Regions from separate parts of the Homo sapiens genome. Here all the other regions are linked to region 2. Evidence: promoter capture Hi-C in human tissues and cell types (Jung and others, 2019). All regions are on one chromosome and are shown on one strand. Each heading gives the region's core, a stretch centred on a gene start or on the middle of the fragment in contact. The rest is flanking DNA. Distances are from core to core; before and after follow the strand shown.

Region 1 (2,993 bases), core at 462-2,961, 190 kb after region 2:
TCACTTACCATCTTTTTGTTATTCTACTTCAACGGGTCAAGAAAGGTGAAGAGAGAGAAGGTAGAAGTAAGAGTCAGAAAAGGCCTAAATAAAATCCTCACTGAAATGTTTAAACATACAAGCAATAGAGACAATTAGGTTGAGGTCAGATGCAGTACTACTATATTTAATGGAGTTAATAATTAGGGCCAAATTAACATGGACAGTTATTCCTGAATGCAAATTAACTCATTAAACGATTTAAATTTCCATTTTTCAGTCTACCACATTTTAGCTAACAAGACACAAAAAGTATAAGTCAAAATACTAAGCACAGGAATTCCAAAAAGTAAGCTTCTTTAATTCATTACTGAACTTAAGAACTTTAATTAAGAAAAATAAATGATAACAGCAAAGGTCTAGCTGAGTAGGCAGAGTGTTAGATAGCTCAGGGTTGTTTTTCCAAGCTCTAGTGTTCAAGTTAAATTTATTTGACACAGGTATCTTTTGCTGTTTTCTACTCGAAGAATAATTTAACTTGATAGGCTTACAAGATTGCACAGAGTGAACAGAATTGAGCCAATAGAATACAGAATGACAAACCATACAAGCAAATGCTGCTAGGGAATTCCTTGGCAAAAATGTTTTATTAGCATACTGACAAATTTGATTTCTATCACTTGGCCTTAAACACGAAGAAAGTGGGCATGAAGAGATGTGTAGTTATTTGTGCCTATGTTGCAAAATAAATTTATGGCTATACATGATATTTCTTCATACCTCAAAAATTTTATTGTCCAGTATATAAAAAAGCCATTCTTTAAAAACCTGACACTGAATAAAAAGTATAGCCTTCAACTTCATTAAACAGTTTATCCTTATCACTATTATTAGCTAATTTCCAGTCAAAGTTCATTTAAGATAGAATTCATTCAGAATGAAAGGAGTTCACAATAAGCAAGTAAGGAATCCCACAAATATTCCAAAAGCTCCTTAAAAAGGAAAAACTTACACTGAGTGTCCCATTTTATTTTTTTTGTTAACAGGAGAGGCCAGAAAAATTCGCTACTTTAACTCTGAAAAAAAAAAACTAACACAGAACCCAAGTTTCAGCTTGTATTTTTATTCATTGTGTAACTCAACTCTCTATCCCAAAAGCAGAAGGCTACATAGCAAATCTCTACCACCCATTACCACCTTCCTACATAAAACAAATGTCCCAAAGAGATACGCCCTAATGCATATTTCAAATGACTCATAACCTTACACTGAAGGCTTGCTAAAGACTATCCAGATAGGACAAACAATGCTAGCGTGTTCACAAATAATTCACTAAAAAAGACCCTAAATTCTATGGCATTCTGTATAACTTGATCCTTCAGTCACCTGAAGAACTTAAAGCCAACTGGTGACTACTGTCCTCTCACTGTTCTCTTTCTTGTCAAATATTGTAACTCCTACTTGATTTCTGATCCCTTTAATATGGGAGAAAAATCGATCGTCTTTTCATGTAGTCTTTCATCTTAAATACAGCGAGTAGGCAATGAAAACTTTCCTTCCTCTTTATGGTAAGATACATAATCCAAGGCCAAATAAAGGCTTGAATGGCTTCCTTCTGCACATTATGGAAATAAGTTATATTAATGAAAAGAGGAATCAATGAGATTTACACCCTGTGTTTTCCTAAATGGCTATATAAAAAAGTAGAGGGATCAGGCCATAAAAACATGAAAAGAAAAAGTCTAAGGTGCCAAAGAGACACTCACATACAATGACAAATATATGGAATTGAAAGACATAAAAATACCAGGCCGATTTCTTTTAAAAATTATATTATGTAATAGGACTTAAGTCACTAACACAGCGTTTCACATTAATGTAATAAACTTAAGTATTTTACTCCAAAGAGTAATGGCATCAAGCCATACATAAACAAAATCAGATGAAATTAACTTCAATTTTTGTGCCCCTGTTCAGGTGTTGATATAAATTAAAAATATGAGAACTTCTACCCTCCCCTTTGCTTTTCATGGCAACATATTTTAAAACTACTTAAAAGAACTGTTAAACTACTTTTATAAGAACACCTCACATGTCTTGATTATCATTTATCAATAAATAAAATATTACCTTGATTTCAATGTTTCCCACTTTGGTGGTTGATCTGATAATAGGTCTTCCAACCAAAGCTGGGAAGATGTGTTCTGGAAAGTTAGAGCCTGCATATCCACACTTCACAAACTGGAATGAAACAGTAAAATAAAAGTGGGTTAGCATCAGGATATTTACTATATTTTAAGACAGCATCTGAAAAATATCACTTTGCATTTATATAACATTTTAAACTTTTGGTGCTTTCAGTCCACCCGAAGTAGCCACTCAATCTATCGCAACATCTCCTTTTAACTTCTTTCACGGCATTGCCTACTTCCAGGGTTCATGTTTATTTACTGCTAAATTAGTGCCTAAGTTCCCTCACTAGACCAAAAGCCTCATAAGAGCAGGGAGCTAAGCTGAGCAGTTCGTGCTGGAATCCAATACCTAACAGAGCTCCTGGCACACAGTGCTCACTCCAGAAGTATCTGTGGGATGGACAAATTCGCTGAACAAATGCTAAGGTTTTTTTTGTTTTTGTTTTGAGACGGAGTTTCACTCTTTTTGCCCAGGCAGAAGTGCAATGGCACAATCTCGGCTCACTGCAACCTCCGCCTCCTGGGTTCAAGTGATTCTCCTGCCTCAGCCTCCCAAGTAGCTGGGATTACAGGCATGCGCCACTAAGCCCAGCTAATTTTGTATTTTTAGTAGAGACGGGGTTTCTCCATGTTGGTCAGGCTGGTCTCAAACTCCCGACCTCAGGTGATCCGCCTGCCTCAGCGTCCCAAAGTGCTGGGATTACAGGCGTGAGCCACCATGCCCGGCAAAATGCTAAGTATTTTTAGAAAGAGAAATGTGAGAAAATGAACAGAACTAAAGCTTCAATTCTAAAGCAGACTTTCATTCATTTTGGGCAAATC
Region 2 (2,932 bases), core at 225-2,724:
AGGCATGAGCCACTGCGCCCAGCCTGAGGCAAATATTTAATCTCTTAACCTGTTCAGTGGTTGCTATTTAGTTAACATCGTATCTGGATTGTCCCATGGACATTCAAGAGGATGGAAAAGTCTACTGTGTTTGGAGAGCAGCAAGGGATAGGGACTATGTCTCTTGTTTCTTTTTCTTTCTTTCTTTCTTCTTCTTTTTTTTTTTTTTTGAGATGGAGTTTTGCTCTTGTTGCCCAGGCTGGGGTGCAGTGGCACAATCTTGGCTCACCGCCACCTTCACCTCCTGGGGTCAAGCGATTCTCCTGCCTCAGCTCCCGAGTAGCTGGGATTACAGGCACGCGCCACCACGCCCGGCTAATTCTGTATTTTTAGTACAGACGATGTTTCACCATGTTGGTCAGGCTGGTCTCGAACTCCCGACCTCAGGTGATCTGCCCGCCTCGGCCTTCCAAAGTGCTGGGATTACAGGCGTGTGCCACCGCGCCCGGCCGGGGCTGCTTCTTAACGCGAGAAATTCCATAATTTCTACGGAAATGCAAACGTTTCTGGGCTGTGCTGGGTTGACCTTTTTCTTTGCATGAGTAATGATTCTTAAAAACATCCGTTCCTTGGCCGGGTGCGGTGGCCCATGCCTATAATCCCAGCACTTTGGGATGCCGAGGCAGGCGGATCACGAGGTCAAGAAATCGAGACCATCCTGGCCAACATGATGAAACCCCCTCCCTACTAAAAATACAAAAATTAGCTGGGCGTGGTGGCGCGCGCCTGTAGTCGCAGCTACTCGGGAGGCTGAGGCAGGAGAATCACTTGAACCCAGGAGGTGGAGGTTGCAGTGAGCCTAGATCGCGCCACTGCACTCCAGCCTGAGGACAGAGCGAGACTCCATCTCAAAACAAAACAAAACAAAAATCCATTCCTCTATTGAGACAAAAAAGAAAAAAAATCACAAGATTCACGTGAAACGGAAAAGCCTCTGCCTTTCAGAACCTTGGCAAAGTCGAACCCCCTCCCCTCTCTGGTTGGGTTGGGCTGGAGAAGCCAGCCCCTGGCACCTGCGCCGCCCCTACCTTCCCACCCCGCGGTGGGGGTAGTTGTGCCTCTGAGCCTGAGCACCTCTTCAGCTGTTTTACTCCCTCCCCTCCCTTGAGTTTCCCATCTCTGCCCCCGCCCAACCCCCCGATTTTTAATCTTGGTGTTTGGAAGGAGGGAGGGGGCAAAAACGGGAGCCAGATGTGTACGAGTCCTCCGCTCCCGCCTCCTCCCTCCTCTCGGGCTTCCTAAAACCCGGAGCCCTAATCAAGGAGGATTCGGAGCCAGACGGTCGCGGCGCAAGCAAACAACTCGGCTCCGCGGCTCCCCCGGGAGTGGAAGCCAGGAGGGAGGGGGAGAGGAAGCGGGGCGTGCTCAGTAGGCGGGACAAAGTTTTTTTTTTTTTCTTCTCCCTTTTTTTCGGTCGCAAGTAGGAAGCTTTTTGCACTCCACCACCTCTGGCCGCTGGGAAGACGTCATCGCTTCCGCCCTACTTCCTCCTCCTGTTGGCGGCGGTGAGAATCCAATATGGAGTAAATCGGTGGAGTCGAGAGATGGGGCTCGGACGGGGCGCCCTGCACCGCCTCCCAGGCGCACCTCCCCCGGCCGCCGACCGCTCCCCGGAACCGTGATTGGCCCGGCCCCCCGGGGGCGACCCCGGACTGAGCCCCCCCACCCGCGGCCGGCGCTCTCCTCCTCCTCGCAGCAGTCCCTGCCGCTCCGAGGCGCGCTTGTTTTTCTCCTGCTCTCCCCCACCGCCGTCCCCTTCCCAAATCTCGCCCCCTCTGCCCGCTCCCGAGCCCCCGGAGCCTCCGCCCGCCTCTCCCCACGGCGCTGCGGCGTTCACTCCCCGCGCAGCCTGCCTTTGCACCCCTTCCCCCAAACCCTATCCCGCGCCCTGCTTCCCCTTCTGCTGCGGCGCCCTCTTCATCTCTAGCCGCCCCCCCTCCCCAAATCAGGCGATCTCCGGAGATGTGAAGAAGGGGGGCGAGCGGACAGGAAGATGAAGGGAGCAAAGCTGCCCGCCGCGGGACAGGCGTCTAGGTGAACAAGAAAATGACCGAAGAAACACACCCAGACGAGTAAGTTTGGTCGCGGGGTGGGACGAGGGTGCCCCTCAGGGGCAGCGTGGGGGCCGGGGCTGAGGATGCGGGCGGGGACGCTTATTGGGTGAACTTGGCGTGGGGTGCAGCGACTCGCTGACCTTTCGGCGTTGGGACGCGAGGCTTCCCTGCTTGTTGAAGTGAGGAGAGGGCAAAAACTGCTGCGGGCTGGCGGGCGCACGCCTAGGGTCGGCGGGCTGGTGGCAGCTCCGGGGGCCAAGGGCGTGCGGGTGACCTCCCGGCGGTCTCCGCTCCCTCTCGGAGGACTTACAGCTCCCCCGCCCCCGAAATCCTCGGCGGCTAGAGCGGAAGACCTGACACCCCCACTCCGGCTTCCCGGGGCTGGTGGGTTTTTGCACAGTGACTTTGTGACTCCCGCCGCCCCGCGAGCCCTGCAGTCCGCTCCGGAGCCCACTGGGGCCTAGGCTCCGCCATTTCGTTTTCTTGAATCGCTCTCATTTGCATACCACATTTTCATTCATAAAAAACACGGCGGAGCGAGAGGAGGACAGGCGCGGGCTGCGCGGGGGTCTGGTGCGCCAGGGTCCCCGCGCGGGCCGGCGTGCTGGAGCCGCCCGAGGGGCCCCGCGGCGCGTGAGTGCCTGTGCACGCGCTTGTGGCCGGCACACGCGTCCTGCGGGGTCGGGCGGCTCGGGGCGGACCGAGGCGTGTGCGGCGGGGGCGTGCGGGGCATCGCGCTGGGGGCGCGCGTGTGTGTGTGTGTATGTGAGTGTCCTCGCGGGTGCGCGTGCACGGGCTTGTGCCTGGCCCGCGGGCCCGAGGGGAACAATGCTCGGGGC
Region 3 (3,063 bases), core at 37-2,536, 130 kb after region 2:
AGTGGTCTGCAGAGAGACACCTGAGAATCCCTGAGGTTAAAATCATCTTAATAAGACGGTGTTTGATTTTTCCACTGTGTTGACATTTACATTGATGGTGCAGAAACAATGAAGGGTAAAACTTAGCGCTAGTCAAAGCGGACTACCAAATTGTGCTAGTCTAATCATTGCATGTTCTTAGAAAAAAATGCCAGTTTCACTTAAGAATGTACTCGATGAAGCAGGCCTGGGGCAGTGGCTCACACCTGTAATCCCCACACTTTGGGAGGCCGAGGCGGGCGAATCGCCTGAGGTTGGGAGTTCGAGACCAGCCTGACCAACGTGGAGAAACCCCATCTCTACTAAAAATACAAAATTAGCTGGGCATGGTGGTGCACACCTGTAATCCCAGCTACTCCGGAGGCTGAGGCAGGAGAATTGCTTGAACCTGGGAGGTGGAGGTTGCAGTGAGCTGAGATTGCGCCACTGCACTCCAGCCTGGGCAACAAGAGCAAAACTCTGTCTCAAAAAAAAAAAAAGAATGTACTTGATGAAGCAATAAATATGATTACTTTTAATACATATTGACCCTTGAGTTCACATCTTCTTAATATTTTGTGTGACAAAATGGAATATATATGTAAAGCACTTCTGTTGCACAGTTAAGTATTGTTGTCTTGAAGTAAAGCTTTTGTGCAACTGTTTTGAGTTGCAAGCTGAAGTAGCTGCTTTTGTCATGGGACACCACTTTTACTTGAAAGAGTGACAGACTGTCATTATGGTTATGTTGTATGGTTATTCAGGAAGGGGTATTTGGCATACACTTTCTCAAAAAAAATGAGCAAAATGAGCCTATTACTTCAAAGAGACAACAGACAGTTTTGTTGTCAGTGACAAAATCTGAGCTTTCAAGCAAAAATTGGAATTTTGTGAAATATGTATCTGCTACTGTTGGCTTGACAATTTCCCAATAGACTTTTTTTTTTTTCCATGAAATTGGTGGTGATATTAAGAAATGCAATTTTGGCCAGGCACAGTGCCTCACACCTATAATCCCAGCACTTTGGGAGGCCAAGGTGGGCGGATCACGAAGTCAGGAGTTCGAGACCAGCCTGGCCAACATGGCAAAACCCCGTCTCTACTAAAAGTACAAAAGTTAGTCAGGTGTGGTGGCGGGTGCCTGTAATCCCAGCTACTCGGGAGGCTGAGGCAGGAGAATCGCTTGAACCCAGGAAGCGGAGGTTACAGTGAGCCAAGATCGTGCCATTGCACTCCAGCCTAGGAGACAAGAGCAAAGGATATGTGATTTTAAAATATATATTGTATAATGAAAATGATATGTGTCAACTTTCAGATCTGCAATAGAGTCAATATCTTCCAAATGACCAATGTATTGCTGTTAAAAAATCACGCATGGGTAAAAGATCCATTCAGAGTGAAAGGCCCATAATGAACGTTGGGTTTTTGTTTTAGTATTTTTTGTTTGTTTTGTTTTGTTTTGCTTTGTTTTGTTTTTTTGAGATAGTGTCACTCTGCCGCCCAGGCTGTGGAATGCAGTGGTGTGATCTTGGGTCACTGCAGCCTCTGACTCCCGGGTTCAAGCGACTCTCGTGCCTGAGCATCCCAAGTAGCTGGGACTATAGGCACACACCACCATGCCTGGCTAATCTTTGTGTTTTTAGTAGAAACAGAGTTTCCCCCATGTTGCCCAGGCTGGTCTCGAACTCCTGACCTGAAGTGATCCTCCTGCCTTGGCCTCCCAAAGTGCTGGGATTATAGGCGTGAGCCACTGCGCCCAGCCCCCATAATGAATTTTGATGTAACCAAGTGATGTGGTTTTAGATTCCACAACTAACCTTTCTTTTTCCTGGAGACGGAGTTTCGCTCTTGTCACCCAGGCTGGAGTGCAGTGGTGCGATCTCAGCTCACTGCAGCTTCCACCTTCTGGATTCAAGCTATTCTCATGCCTCAGACTCCCGAGTAGCTGGGATTACAGGCACCTGCCACCACACCCAGCTAATTTTTGTATTTTTAGTAGACAAGGGGTTTTGCCATGTTGGCCAGGCTGGTCTTGAACTTCCGACCCTAGGTTATCTGCTTGCCTCGGCCTCCCAAAGTGCTGGGATTACAGGCATGAGCCACTGCACCCAACCTCCCACGACTAACCTTTAAGAAATTATTACCTATGAGTTTTGGCAGAGTATCAAAGAAGACTACCTACAAGGATCTCTCAAAAGACTATTAAACTCTCTTCCCTTTTCCAACAACATATCTGTCTAAGGTCAGGTTTTCTTCATATACTTCAATCAAAACAACACATTACAACAGATTGAACTCAGAAGCAGATATGAGAATCCAGCTGTCTTCTATTAATTAAAGGTTTTCAAAATATAAGCCAGTATTTCTGTTCTCTAAAATATTTTTTATTTGGCAAATGTAGTTATTTCTTTCTCTTTTTTTGAAGCAAGGTCTCCCTCTGTCTCCCCAACTGGAGTGTAGTGGTGCAATCGTAGCACACTAACCTCAAACTCCTGGGCTCAAGCAACTCTCCCACCTTGGCCTCCCAAAGTACTGGGATTATAGGCGTGAGCCACTGTGCCCGGCCTCCTTAGTAATTTTTAAGAGTGTACAGAGATCCTGAGAACAAAGTGTGTGGCCTCTTCCTCTCTTGGTTAACAGGCTGTTTTGTAGTCAATTCTGCTCTCATTCCCTTCAACTGCAGCTTTGACTCTGGTCTTCTATTTTTGGTTACTTTGTATTGCCTTCTTATTTTAGACAGCTCCCTTTGTATCTCGTCTTAGACTGTTTTGTCATTCCCCTTCCTTCTTAGGCCAGTTCCGTTGAAGCCATATCTTCTTGTGTCATTCAGAGGACCCTAAATTGCAGTCATCTAAGATGAGCCTCTGTTTCTTGTAGAGTAGTAATGTTCAGAGAGACCTGCTACCTCTGGCCCTTGAGGGCAGTTTTCTCCCCTTCAGGCTCTACTCTCTTTTCTCTGGCCCCTTGTTGGTATTTTTTCCATTGCATGGAGAGCCCTCTATCCAGGCTTGACCTTGGCCATCAGACAAGGCAAATGCCTTGTCC

What was found. Contacts are between HindIII fragments. The study calls those that stand out against the background at their distance.
Region 1: a contact is called between a fragment that was not itself captured here and the fragment with the promoter of SPRED2 in region 2, in 1 of the 25 tissues and cell types used here (mesenchymal stem cells).
Region 3: a contact is called between a fragment that was not itself captured here and the fragment with the promoter of SPRED2 in region 2, in 3 of the 25 tissues and cell types used here (IMR-90 fibroblasts, adrenal gland and lymphoblastoid cells).

What each region holds. Positions count from the first base shown.
Region 1 is chr2:65,239,079-65,242,071 of GRCh38, reverse strand. ACTR2 (actin related protein 2) reads right to left here. Exons shown (of 9, transcript NM_005722.4): 2 at 2,110-2,220. Among named protein-coding and RNA genes, the nearest start is that of ACTR2, 13 kb to the right of the region's middle. The HindIII fragment of the contact is 3,672 bases long and covers 1-2,993 here.
Region 2 is chr2:65,431,141-65,434,072 of GRCh38, reverse strand. It overlaps SPRED2 (sprouty related EVH1 domain containing 2), which reads left to right and starts at 1,474. Exons shown (of 6, transcript NM_181784.3): 1 at 1,474-2,111. The coding sequence starts at 2,086. RefSeq lists silencers at 1,572-1,771, 2,542-2,591, 2,622-2,932. The HindIII fragment of the contact is 4,754 bases long and covers 1-2,932 here.
Region 3 is chr2:65,302,445-65,305,507 of GRCh38, reverse strand. No RefSeq gene overlaps it. Among named protein-coding and RNA genes, the nearest start is that of ACTR2, 76 kb to the right of the region's middle. The HindIII fragment of the contact is 6,401 bases long and covers 1-3,063 here.